3 separate regions of the Homo sapiens genome follow, and all the other regions are linked to region 2. Evidence: promoter capture Hi-C in 16 types of primary human blood cells and fetal thymus (Javierre and others, 2016). All regions are on one chromosome and are shown on one strand. Each heading gives the region's core, a stretch centred on a gene start or on the middle of the fragment in contact. The rest is flanking DNA. Distances are from core to core; before and after follow the strand shown.

What was found. The method cuts DNA at HindIII sites, captures the fragments that hold promoters and counts their contacts. A CHiCAGO score of 5 or more calls a contact.
Region 1: a contact is called between the fragment with the promoter of ASB1 here and the fragment with the promoter of COPS9 in region 2, in 3 of 17 cell types (total B cells, fetal thymus and naive CD8 T cells). The highest score is 11.6, in total B cells.
Region 3: a contact is called between a fragment that was not itself captured here and the fragment with the promoter of COPS9 in region 2, in 2 of 17 cell types (neutrophils and M0 macrophages). The highest score is 6.9, in neutrophils.

Annotation. Positions count from the first base shown.
Region 1 is chr2:238,424,948-238,429,065 of GRCh38, forward strand. ASB1 (ankyrin repeat and SOCS box containing 1) reads left to right here and starts at 1,980. Exons shown (of 5, transcript NM_001040445.3): 1 at 1,980-2,172. The coding sequence starts at 2,124. It overlaps LOC124908002 (a long non-coding RNA gene), which reads right to left and starts at 1,947. Exons shown (of 2, transcript XR_007088163.1): 1 at 1-1,947. RefSeq lists enhancers at 561-1,096, 2,609-2,728 and silencers at 1,429-1,818, 1,839-2,358. The HindIII fragment of the contact is 6,850 bases long and covers 1-3,738 here.
Region 2 is chr2:240,134,290-240,138,741 of GRCh38, forward strand. It overlaps COPS9 (COP9 signalosome subunit 9), which reads right to left and starts at 2,016. Exons shown (of 3, transcript NM_001163424.2): 1 at 1,933-2,016. The coding sequence starts at 1,995. RefSeq lists a silencer at 1,828-1,877 and enhancers at 2,318-2,417, 2,428-2,537. The HindIII fragment of the contact is 4,227 bases long and covers 1,179-4,452 here.
Region 3 is chr2:238,982,868-238,986,897 of GRCh38, forward strand. No RefSeq gene overlaps it. Among named protein-coding and RNA genes, the nearest start is that of LINC01940, 59 kb to the left of the region's middle. RefSeq lists enhancers at 2,113-3,095, 3,096-4,030. The HindIII fragment of the contact is 1,166 bases long and covers 675-1,840 here.

The sequences.
Region 1 (4,118 bases), core at 730-3,229, 1.7 Mb before region 2:
CAGCAATTGAGTGTCCTTCCCCCTCCAGCACTGCTGGCTCTGTGGACACTGCCCTGCACCATGTGGGCATTTAGGAGGCACGGAGGTGGGCATGTGAGGCCACCTCCCCGCTACAGACCACGTGCGGCCTCAGGTTCTTCTAAGAGGCAGGATCCCAAGGGCAACACGTGGCAGGGAAGGTGGAGGTGCAGGTGCAGGAGGGCCACTCTGCTCAGGGACTCAATACCTTGATGCAAAGGCTACCGACACGCAGAACGCTCACTGTGAGCCCACCGGGACCAGGCAGGCAGAGCAGCGGAGGCCCCCGGAGACGTGGCTCTCACCAGGCTGCACTTTAGAATCACCTGGGTGCTCTGAACCACCCAACACCCAACCCGCACCCCTGACTGACTGCACCGGAACCTCTTTTAAAAAATTCTTTAAAACAATTGTGGTAAAATATATAGAACATAAAACTTAACCTGCTTTAAATGCGCAGTTCAGTACTGTTAATGCACAATTCACATTGCTGTGTGACCCGTCTCCAAAACTTTTTCATCTTCCTCAACTGAAGCTCTGTCCCCATGAAAAACTAACTCCTCATTCCCCACTCCCCCAGCCCTTGGCAACCCCCATTCCGCTCCACCATTTCACTGCTCCAGGGACCTCAAATAATTGGAATCACACAGTACTGTATTTGTCTTTTTGTGGCTGGCTTATCTCACTCAGCATAACGTCTTCAAGGTCATCCGTGTTGTGACGTGTGTCAGGATTCCCTTCCTTTCTAAGGCTGAGTACGAATCCATTGTATGGACGGACAGCATTTCCTTTCTAAGGCTGAGTACGATTCCATTGTATGGATGGACGGCATTTCGTTTATCCATTCATCCATCCAACAACACGTGAGGCGGCTTCAGGCTTCGGAGTTGCTGAAGCTCCGAGTTCGGGATGTGCAGCTGTGGTGGAGCCAGGGGCTGGGCACACCCCTGGCTCCTGGCCTGGCAGCGTCATCATCGGAGTCACCTGTCCCTCATGCCAGTGGTGCTCTCTGCTGTCATCAAGACCAAACACCACTGTAGGAAGTACCCCCACTCCCGCCTCCAACCCCCACAGGGCCTGCCAGGTCTGCCCCCAGTGGGCCCCCTGGTGCATCTGGGCCACCCAGGGCCAGCCTCAGCAGGGGCACTCGCGGGGCTGCGCCTGCGGCTTCCCTTACTCCAGTCTGGAATGTTGTACACACGGATGAGCCAGCAGCTCACGCCCACGACTGCTGGGGTCTCCGGACTCCCTCATCAGCCTCCTGCTGTGCTGTGTACAAATCCTCCTCCTGCATGAGGCCCCGCTGTCTAACTCAGCAGGGGAGAATGGGAGGAGCCAAGGGAATCCGTGCTTTAGGACCAACACCAATACTCATGGTGGGACGACGCTGCGATATTTGAAGTTGGGAGTGTGCAAGAAATGTTACTCGGTTGTTCACGAATGCATTCATTTATTCAATGAACTTCGCGTCAGCCACTGGCTGTCATCAGTTACCGACCTGATTGAGGGCTTCATGGAAGGGATTTGGAGGAGCATTCATCTAAAACCACAGCACGCTGCGACGCTCAGCCCTGCAGTGGGCCCTCACCAGTCCCCGCGCCTCCGAATCCACCCTCCCGGGGCTGCTCGTGGCTAGCGGGGGGCACCTGCGGGGACCAAGCCAGCCCGGCCGAGGCCCGGGTCCCGCCCGCCACGGCCCTCGGGGCCCCGCCCACATCTGGCAGAAGCCACGCCCCGTCCGTGTGGGTGGGGACGGCCCGCCGGACCGAAATTCCCAGACTGCTGCCTCAGGCAACGGGCTTTCCGACTCCTTGGCTTCTTATGTGAGGAAACCACAGCGCGGCCGGCATCCAGAGAGTCGGTTAGCCGCGAAGTTCCCGCCGGACGAAGGGACCAGCCAGCGCCCTGCTAGACAGCGAGGCCGGAAGCGGAGGCGTGGCCCCTGCGCGGCCCCGGAAACCAGTGAGGCCGGCGCGCGCCCGCCGGAAGCCGCGACCCCGACGCGCCCCCCATTGCCCTCGGCGCCGGAAGTGGTCGCGGGTCGTTCTGCTTCCTGCCCGAGGGGCGTGCGCGGGTCAGGGGCGGCCGCGGAGGCGGAAGCATCCATGGCGGAGGGCGGCAGCCCAGACGGGCGGGCAGGGCCGGGCTCCGCAGGTAACGTGCGCGCGGCCACTGGGCCGCGGGGCGTGTGGGGATGGCGAAGGGCTGGCTCCGGCGTCCCTGCCGAGGTCCTGCGTCCTCGTCCCGGGCTGGCCGGGTCCACGGGGCAGCCAGGGAGCCGCACCCTGCAGGCCGGGGGTGGGGTTCAGCGCGGCTCGCAGTGCTGGGCGACCCCACCACGGACGCGCTGCCCTCTCCTCGGCCTCGAGTGCAGTCCCCGCGCTAGATTTTCTTTCCGGTGGAACTTGCTCGTAACTTCCTTCCCGTTAGCCGATACAGATTTGATATGACCCAACCGCAAAAGTAGGACGTGGGCCACCTTCCAGCTCTGAGCGCACGGATCAGGAAAGCCAGCCAGAGGGTAGCCCTAGGGAGGGCAGGCACTTTTTCACCATTCTGCCGCCCACGGCGTGTCCGGTGGTACAGCGGGGGGCAGCCTTCCCACCCACCACAGGCACAGACCAGGGACAACGGGGACGCCGTCTCCAGCGAGCTCGTCAGTGACACAACATGTCCAGGGGCCTTTGGCCCACCAGCAAGGGAGGCAGATAGAAAGGCTCACACCCACCTTCCAAAATAACTGTCCTACTTAGGGTCTCCACCTTGCAGTGTCCCTACCATGCAGATGTGAAGGAAGCGGTCAGGACAGGTTCCCGTTTCCCGGTGGTGTGGTGGGAGTTCCTTCTTGCTGGATTTCTGAGCTTGCCATTCGCGCCAATAGTTTCGTGTGTTCTGGGCTTTCTTTACATGCCTATATTTGTCTTTGGAGGGGTTCCTCTCCTACTTAGTAATAAACCAATACATTTCTTAAACATCTTAAAAGATTGACTTGGAGACTGGTGCAGATAGGCTTTTCCATCCATCCCTCCCTCTGCACCTCCTTCCAATCATTTAACAGACTTGTATTGAAGACCTGCTGTTGGCTAGACCCAGCAGAGGATACTGCAGTGACCAGAAAAAGCCAGACAAAGCATCTACCATCCTGGGCTTTGGTTGGCGTTGACTTTGACTTCAGAGACAGCCAGGACCTTAGGGTCTAGGATGTCATCTCATGTGAGAGTGAGAGACGGAATGATGCGTGTTCCGTGGGAAAAAGAGGACCAACAGCTACTTCCCAGTATAAAGAGAGTTCCTGGGGAATAAACACTGGCTTTGTCGGCTGCACAGGTCTCCTTTTTTTTTGAGACGGAGTTTCGCTCTTGTTGCCCAGGGTGGAGTGCAGTGGCGTGATCTCGGCCCACTGCAGCCTCCGCCTCGGGGGTTCAAGCGATGCTCTGGCCTCAGCCTCCCTAGTAGCTGGGATTACAGGTGCTGGCATCATGCCCGGCTAATTTTTGTATTTTAGTAGAGACGGGGCTTCACCATATTGGCATATTGGCCAGGCTGATAGCGAACTCTAGACCTCAGGTGATCTGCCCGCCTCTGCCTCCCAAAGTGCTGGGATTACAGGCGGCAGCCACCACACTCAGCTGAGGGCTCCTTTTTATATCCTCATGCACTGCTGTTTTGTTATTCAGTGTGTTTCGGCCTCGGGTAGAGGGGCAACAGATTTTCAGTTGAAGCTTAAGTGCTATCCTGGGGCAGTTGTGTTGTCATTGGAGTAGTTGATCAGCGAAACACAAACTTGAAGTTGCTTTTGAATCTGGAGCTGGGGAAAGATTCTGAGTCTACTTTGAGCAGGGCCAGGAATGGATAGCACAGAGGCCAGCAGAGGGGGCCCAGAAGAGGGCTCAGCAAAAGTCCTGTGGCCGCCATTTACCTGTTGGTTATTGCCCTACACCTGAATCTTTCCCACTCCGACTTTGAACTTTTTCACTCTGTAGTAACCGCAACTGTGGAGTAATTACAGGGGAGGATAGTTACTGAAGGAAGACTGGGGTGGTGGCTTAAAGAGCTGTTCATGCCGGCTTGTTGATCTGCGGCGAGTCTGGTTGTGGGAT
Region 2 (4,452 bases), core at 766-3,265:
GCCCCTCAAGGAGAGCTTTCCGATCCCTCGCCGGACATCGCCAGAGGCCACAAACATGCGAAATTGAGCCCATCGCCTCCACTCAGGATCCCTTCCCTCTCTCTTCTGGGAATGAAACCACTTCCCCGAGGAAACTGACCTGCTCTGCCTCTGAGGTTCTGGTGCCCCGCTGCTATCATGGACCGTCCACTGCCACAACTCCACGGCAGTGGAAAAACCATGTCACAACCCAAGCTGGGCAATCTGAAGCCCTCAGGATTTTGGGTCCTGTTTAGAGTCAACCGGTGACAGAGGGAGCAGATTCCTCTGACAGCAGCACCCTGGACAGCTGGCCACAGGTCCTGCTGCTGCCCTGGCCCCAGCATTCACAAGGCCGCTTGCTCAGACCTGCCCTGATCCCCACATAGCTGCATGCCCTTGTTCCCTTTCAGACACTCTCAGAAAAGCCAGGACACTCAGTCTCCTCCCCTGGCTTCTCAGCCACCCTCCCTGTCCCCATCAGCACAGTAAGCCACGCGCATTCTACCACTTGAAGCTTGTCCCTACCTCCATCTGCCTCATTCACACCCTCTTCAACTCTCCTGTTCTCCCTGCTCTCATTTTTCTACCCTCTCACCCGTAAATGCTGCCACCCTACAGAGCAAGTCGGAGCCTCTCACTCCCCACTGTAAAGCCCTCCGGTGGCTCCACATCGCCTAGGACTGTGAAGCCTAGGACTGTAAAACAGGACTGAGAAGCCTGGGTTTAATGGAAGTGCTTCGGGAGCGGGGTGCACAGAGCCACCCTCTTTAGCATGGTTCCAGATGGTTTCACGATCTGGGTAGGGAGAGAGTCCCTACCCACTGTCTCCCCTCTCTCTGGCACTGCACGCTCAACCATGTTAAACGACACAACATTCCCTTCCCTTGGTGAGCCAGTCGGCATCCCCCAACCCAGGGCTCTGCTCCTGCCGGGCCTTCATCCCCCACTACCTGGCAAACACCAATGTGTCCCCCAGCATTTGGCCACAGAGTCGACTCCTCAGCTGTACCTTTGCTGAGCCCCCTCAAAGCCCTGAGGGTCCATCCGTCGGTGCGCCTTCGGCTTTCTATGACACCTGGTATTTGCAATCAGCCGCTCTGCCATGCTATTACCTCCACAAGCACAAGGGCTGCCTCTGACCACCTCTGCAGCCCCTAAGCTTTGAGAAAGAGCACATAAGGCCCTGACATGTAGGAGCTGGCCTGCCACTCTGAGCTAGGCTGTGGTGCTCTCCTGCTGACCATAAACCATCTCAGAACGCTCACATCAGACAAGGTCACTCTGTGAACACAATAGAGACCAACAAAACCCCAAGACGACTGTATAATCCTGTATAATTAAAAAGAAGAACGAGGCCACTACGCAAAGCACATAAATGCCAGATGTCTCCTTTTCCGCTCCGACAGGAATGACGGCTGCTCCAGTCTTCCCTCATTCTAGTTAAGATTAAGAGGCCCAATCGGAGAATTATCCTCGCTTCCAAGGCACAGTAAAGCCCACTTTCTTCCCCCAAATCCCCTAACACGAGCTCAAATCCCACACGAGGTTATGGAGACGCACCGCGGGCCCCCATGGGGTGCTGCAGCCATCGAAGAGCAGCAAACGCAACTCCTCTGACCACGGGTGTGTTCCCGGGGGCCGTGGGGGCACCCAGCAGGCACTCAACCCTCAGGCTGCGCCTCCTGGTCCCCCGGGCTAGGGCACACGCTTCCCGCCGCGGTCGGTCGCCGCCTTTCACCAGGTGCTCGGAGAAACCGGGATTTGCTCTCCGCGGGGCAGGGAGCCTGGGAGCCGCGCCCATCGCCCACCCGCCCGGCCTCCCCTCCCCGGGACCCGCGCACCAGGACGCCGCCCTTCCGCTCCCCCTTCCCCGCTCCCCACGCTCGGAGACTCCCGCCGGGCCCGTGCCACCTCGTCCAGGTCCACGTAGGGCCCGGCGCCCTCGGGGAACATCTCGTCCACCGCCGGCTTCATCTCGGGGCCGCGGCGCTCTAGGCTCACTTCCGGCCTCAGAGCCGCTTCCGGCGCGCGCCACATGGCAGATCTAGACGCCGGAGGACCGCGCCTCTGTGGTGCCCGCCCGCTGGGGTGCTCCCGGCCGCCGGCGCGTCCGCGGCCACCGGCGTTTGTCTTTGCGCTGGCGAGGGCGGGCGTCTGCAACGCCTCTGATGGGCGGCCGGGCGGCCACGGGGAGAAAAGGCTGCCAGCAATGGGAGCAGTGCCTGCAGAGCACGCCTCCGACCAGAGGCCGGATCCAGAATAAAGAAGGAGCCTCAGACTCTGCCGCAAAGACGGCCGGGTTCACAGGAGCCCAGGGCTTGACCTTCAGACGTTTGTCTGAAGAAGACACACTCGCGGCCAGTGAGCAGATGAAGAGGTGAAAGCAAACCAGGGCCCCACGGCCGCTGCACCCCTGGGACGCCCAGAGTCAAAAAAACAGCAAAACACGGGTGGAAGGGTGCGCGGCACACGGGGCCCCTCGCACCGCGGCGGGGAGTGAGACGCGGCAGCCGGGGCGGGAGACGGGGGGGGGCAGGTCCCAGAAAATCAAACACGGACACCCACGTGGCCCAGCACTCCCCTTCCGGGCACAAGCCCAGAGGACCAAAAGCCGAGGCTCCAAGGGGCGTCTTTACCCCACGTTCACAGCAGCGTTATTTATAATAAATGAAAAAGGGAAGCGTCCCCCGCTGTCCCTGCCCATCGATGGATACGTGCATAAGCAAATGTGGGCCATGCACACTGTGGAACATTACTCAGCCTTTAAAAGGAAGGGAATGCCGACACCTGCTGCCACGCGCAGGAACATTGAGGACGCTCTGCCGAGGGAAACGGGCCAGTCCTAAGACAAACACCGCATGATTCCACTCAGCCGAGGCCCCTAGAGGAGTCAAAGTCATAGAGACAGAAAGTAGAAGGGGGTTATCAGGGTCTGGGGAAGGGGAAATGGGGAGTTCGTGTTTAGTGGGGACAGATTTTCAGCCTTGACAGATGAAAAGGATCTGTAGAGGCTGCTGGTGATGGCTGCACAGTTCGTGAATGTGCTTAACGTCACTGAAATGTGGTTAAGATGGAAACAATTTGTGAAGTTTTACCGTAATGAAAAAAACAACAAAAAAGAATGTGACAGAAATGCGAGGGAAAGGAGAAGGAAAGGGGTAAGAGGAGGGAGAAGGTTGGAGGAAGAGAGGGAGAGAGGAAGAACAGGGGAGGGAAGGAGAGAGAGCAACAGGTCCTGGAACTAGACTTTGCCAAAGATTCCTTGCTCAGCCAGACTTCGGTGGCCTCCTAACCTCCTCCCAGGCCCATCTGTGCACTGCATTGTCAGGTTCAGTTTTCGCAGAGAGCCCTGCTAAGTTGGTTTAGCCAGAGCCCCCCACCCTGGATATTGGATCGGGTTCCTGGTCCCCCAGCATCCCCAGGATGTCTGATGGCCCAGACCTGTCTTCAGCGAAAGCCCTGCGGGGTCGGCCGAGCCAGCATCCCGTCCCGCACTGTGTTCCTCCCAGTCATTTGCCACCCGCGACCCCACCTGCTCCTCAGCCGCAAACCCCCACTGCCTGTGCTGTTCGGAGCTGAGCCTGGTCTCCCTCCCCCACTGCAAGATCCCGTTGCAGTGGTCCCCACACCCGTCTCCAGGGTTCGGAACAACTTCTGAAAATTTCCAATAATGTTTTCCTTTAACAGGCCTTAGAGGAGTTGGGTTTGGGGGTTAGGCTGTAGAGAAGGGGAGTGGGGGGCGGCATGGATGAGGGTAGTTCCAGGGACAGGAATTGAGCTGAAATGTGAGGGGTGTGTGTGGCCTGAAAAGGGGCCGCCTGGCCTGAGTGGACAGTGTGGGACGCAGGGAGAAGCTGGCAGTGGATATTGGGTGAGCCTCATGCCATGCCAATGTGCATCACCCTGAAGGACCCAAGTGAAAGTCAGTCCGATGGAACAGGGGCTTGGCAGTGACTAAGAAGATTGACCCATTAAGTCAAGGTCTTTACTAGCTAAGGGGTGGAGCTGTGGGTCTCCACGGTCTGCTTGTACACCCTACAGGGATGGGGGGCTCACCACCTGTGCAGAGGCCATCCTATTGCTGGAGGCCCATCCCTGAGACACCATCGTGCTGCCTGCCCAGTCTTCCAGTGCCCCAGGTGAAGCCCCCTTCCTCCCAGCATCCTCAAAGCCTAGAGCCGTCCCTGGAAGACAGAGCCTGCCCAGGCCCCGCTGTCCCTGACCGATGACAGATACAGGTGGGGTTTCTCAGTTCCGTTTCCTGCTGCCTCCTGGGCACTGCTCCCAGGGGTGTGTCATGGTGTGGAGTCAGCCTAGCCCTGACTGTGGGTTTGTGTGCTGCCCAGCTTAGTGGCCCAGAGCGGGGGTGCCTGGACTAGAATCTAGCTACCCCCTAACCAGCTGTGTGACCTTAACAAGTCAGGCTGTGAC
Region 3 (4,030 bases), core at 8-2,507, 1.2 Mb before region 2:
CCTCCAGCTCTATCCATGTTGCTGCAAAGGACATGATCTCATTCTTTTTTATGGCTACATAATTATATTGTGTATATGTATCATATTTTCTTTACCCAGTCTATCATTGATGGGCATTTAGGTTGATTCCATGTCTTTGCTATTGTGAATAGTGTTGCAACGAACATACCCGTGCATGTGTCTTTATAATAGAATGATTTATATTCCTTTGAGTATATACCTATGGGATTGCTGGGTTGAATGGTATCTCTGTCTTCAGGTCTTTGAGGAATTACCTTGCTGTCTTCCACAATGGTTGAACTAATTTATACTCCCACCAACAGTGTATAAGCGTTAAAAACTATGGACTTTTTGACTGGGATTGCATGAAATCTACATACCTATTTGGGAAGAATTTACATCTTCATATATTAGCTATTTCTCATCCATGAACTTAATGTATTCTTCCATTTGGGAGGCTGAGGCAGAAGAATCACTTGAACCTGGAAGGTGGACGTTGCAGTGAGCTGAGATCGCACCACTGCACTCCAGCCTGAGGGATAAGGCAAGACGATCTCAAAAAAAAAAAAAAAAAAAAAAAAACCAAACAAATAAAATAAATAAATGAATAAATAAATAATGTCTTTATAAAAAGTTCTCTTTTTCCATCATAGAATTCATATGCATTTTGTTCAAGCTTATTTCCAGGGACTTCATTTTTTTTAAAAAATGGTTTGTTTTTCTGTTTTTTTCCCTAGTTGTTTCTGGAATGTAAAATGTAATTGATCTTTGTATATTGATTTTGTATCCAGCAACTTGTTACATTCTTATTAATTCTAATAAATTCAACTTAGATTCTTTATGTACTTTTAGGCACACAATCATAATATCTGTGAATAGTGGGGGAGCTGAACACAGCTCACTAAAAGCAGGACACCCATGTGGGTGGTTATGGGTATATTTGGCTTTCTCTAGTTGGTCCTATGTTAGAAGCAGGGACAAAAATTAGGGAAGATGTCAGCTGTTCATTGAATCCTGGCCACTTGGGGTCAGTTGTTACAAAGGCTCTTGTTTGGCTTCCTGGACAGGTTGCTGGAGATGGTGGCCTGCCTTCCTCCACATCTGGCTTATTGACAGCAAGCTGGCCTCGGGGCTGGTCACTGTAGGAAAGGGGTGGGTTTCCGGGGCTGGTTGCCGCAGGTTGCAGGCCAGAGCTTTGTTTTTGTTTGTTTGTTTGTTTTGAGACGAAGTCACGCTCTTGTCACCCAGGCTGGAGTGCAATGGCGCAATCTCGGCTCACTGCAAGCTCTGCCTCCCGGTTTCAAGCAATTCTCCTGCCTCAGCCTCCCCAGTAGCTGGGACTACAGGTGTGCGCCACCACACCCACCTACTTTTTTTTGTATTTTTAGTAGAGACGGGGTTTCACTATGTTGGCCAGATTGGTCTTGAACTCCTGACCTTAGGCGATCAGCCCGCCTCGGCCTCCCAAAGCGCTGGGATTACAGGCATGAGCCACCACGCCCGGCCGCTCTGTTTGTATACACGGTCTGACCAGTGTCCATCTGTGTAGTCAGCTTCTCACTCTGCAACAGGTAACTAAAGGAAGCATGGAGATCACTCAGCTTCCAACCTGGCTTCTCTCTTCTCAGCTATAAGACTGAGTCAGGATCCACCATCTAACTCTGCTGTGAGCAGGGTCAATATTAAATGATCCTGTTCAATGTTTTCACCTGTTTTCCAAGAAAGGGTCTGAATGATTTGAAGAGGAAATATTTTTGTTTAGAAATAAATTATTGTCAAATAACATATATCAAAATTTGAGAAAAAATAAGCATTCAAGGTCTCTGACTTGACTGAAGAAAGCTTCAACATGTGCATCTATAGTGAGACACAGTCATTTTTGTGGTTGGTGGGGAGCTGCTTTTCCTACAGAAGTACGGAACCATGCATGACGCTGGCAGAATCCAGGTCAATGAGCATGTGCTTAACCATAATTTTTAAAAATACATATTTTGTTTTGTACCAAAGGGCTTTCATCTTCTCCTCCTTTGTAAAAATCACACAGCTTTTGAGTCCGTTTGTGTTGGCTTTCATTGAACTGTCCTGGGTTTTATCAGCCCAGAGACATTCCCTCCAGGACTCCTACGGGTGCCACCTCCAGAGCGGTAATCAGGGCTAAGCTTAATTAGAGAGAAAAACTTCCAGAAAGGGCAACTCCATCCCTTTTTATGGTAAAATAAACACATTTCCAAAAGGGGCCTTTCCTTTAATTAAATTCTCTGCAATGTGGCAGCTGCTTGGGAGGTATTTTTGCATATTTGGGTTTAAGAAGATGTATGTACATAGAGGTGATGTCACATTTGGAATGATGAGTGTTTATAAGACCAAGTTTATGAGTTTACTAACTCGCAAGCCAGCTATCTTCATACCAGAAAGGACAAAGCCAGCGTCCAAGCGTGGGCCTTCCCACGTCCAGCCATCTCGTAAAAACAGGCGAGGTGGGCCTCGGGAGAGACACAAATGTCAGGGGCGCAACACAAAAACCGAACAGGAATGTGGGGATGGGGGCTGCCGGCCCCTGGCGCTCAGCGGGAGGCCCCACCATAGAGCTGGGGCCCAGGGAGTTTGAGTATTTACCCCAGAGGTTACCCAGGATGGACGTGTTCAGTCTGGGCACACAATCAAAGCCCGCGCGGGCCCCTCAGGGAGGGTCTTTCCCCTCCTGCTGGGAGGCAGGGTCCCCAGCGCCCCCTGACCTCGCCCTTGCAATTGCTCAAACTTCAGGACCGCTCATCCCAGGCTCCACGGGGCTGCTGCAGAGCCAAGAAGACCCTGTTCTACTGAGCGACCGTTCAAGGGACAGTACTTTTTAGGGGGGTCAATATGAATCTCCTAATTTAACCTCTCCGCTGCCACAGCCATTCAACCCGTCCCTACAGAGCTCCTGCAGCGGTGCTCACGTGGCCTTCGGGAGGATCCACCAAGGTCACCTGCGTCACACCGGGGAACGACTCCCTCCCTCCCAAGAAAGCTCCGAGACAAAACCTGTACCAGGAAGGGTCCCTCGGCTCGTGGTGCTGCAGTGAGCCAGGCTACACCCTGGCTGGCAGAGCCCCGGGGCTTCCAGCAGCGCAGCCCTAGGCCTGCGGAGGGAAGGCTGCACTCCAGCCTGTCGGGGCCGCCGGACAGCTCTCCTGGGAGGCTTGGGCCTGGCACACTGGGGCCCTCGCTCCCCTCTCCATCGCCCTCTAACCTTGGTTCAGCTCCCGGCCCGCCCCTTCCCAGTGGGAACAAAGGCAGTAGCGATGTCCTCGCTGCCGCCTTCTTCCTCCAAGAGGAGTCCACTCCCTGCAGTCCGGCCCCGCTGCCTCTCCACGCGGGCTGCCTCTTTCTCATCCCTGCGCCGGCGCATCCTCTCAGATCCACAGCAAGGAGGGGACGTGCGGGGGAGGGGTCGGCTGGCTAAAACCCAGGCTCGCCCACAGAATGGTGGGACCCCTGCCTCAGGTGGTGGGAGATGCGTGCAGGGTCCCAGCCCCAGGGCAGGCGCCTCAGCCTCTGCGCGGGGCCGCCCTGCTCTTCCCTGGCTCGCTGGGATCCAGGCCCTGGTCTAAGCCCCTGGCCTCACCTGCCCTGCGCAACCAACGGCCCCAAGGTCCAAATGCAGGGACCCTCTCGGTGACCCAGGACGTGCTCAAGTTACCTTCTTCCTGGCACACACACCCACCCCTAAATTCAAAACTATCCCCGGCCATTTGGGAAGCAAGGCTCGCTCTCGCTCCCCTGGGGCTGTCTCCTTGCGCGGAGGGCTCCAAGCTCAGGGCGGGTCGGCTCAGGCAGGGTCTGGGGGCTCGGCGGGGCGCGGGTTCAGGCAGGCCCAGGGAGCAGGCGCATGGGGCGACCGCAGAGCTCCAGGACACACAGTCCGGGTCAGTGTTCCCTAGAGACCCCTCCAAGAGCCCCTCCTGGACACCTGTGCCGACGCGCAGCCACATTTGTCCTCTTCAGGTGGAAACAGGGCCAGTCTGACACTCCCCAGTCCACGCCCTGC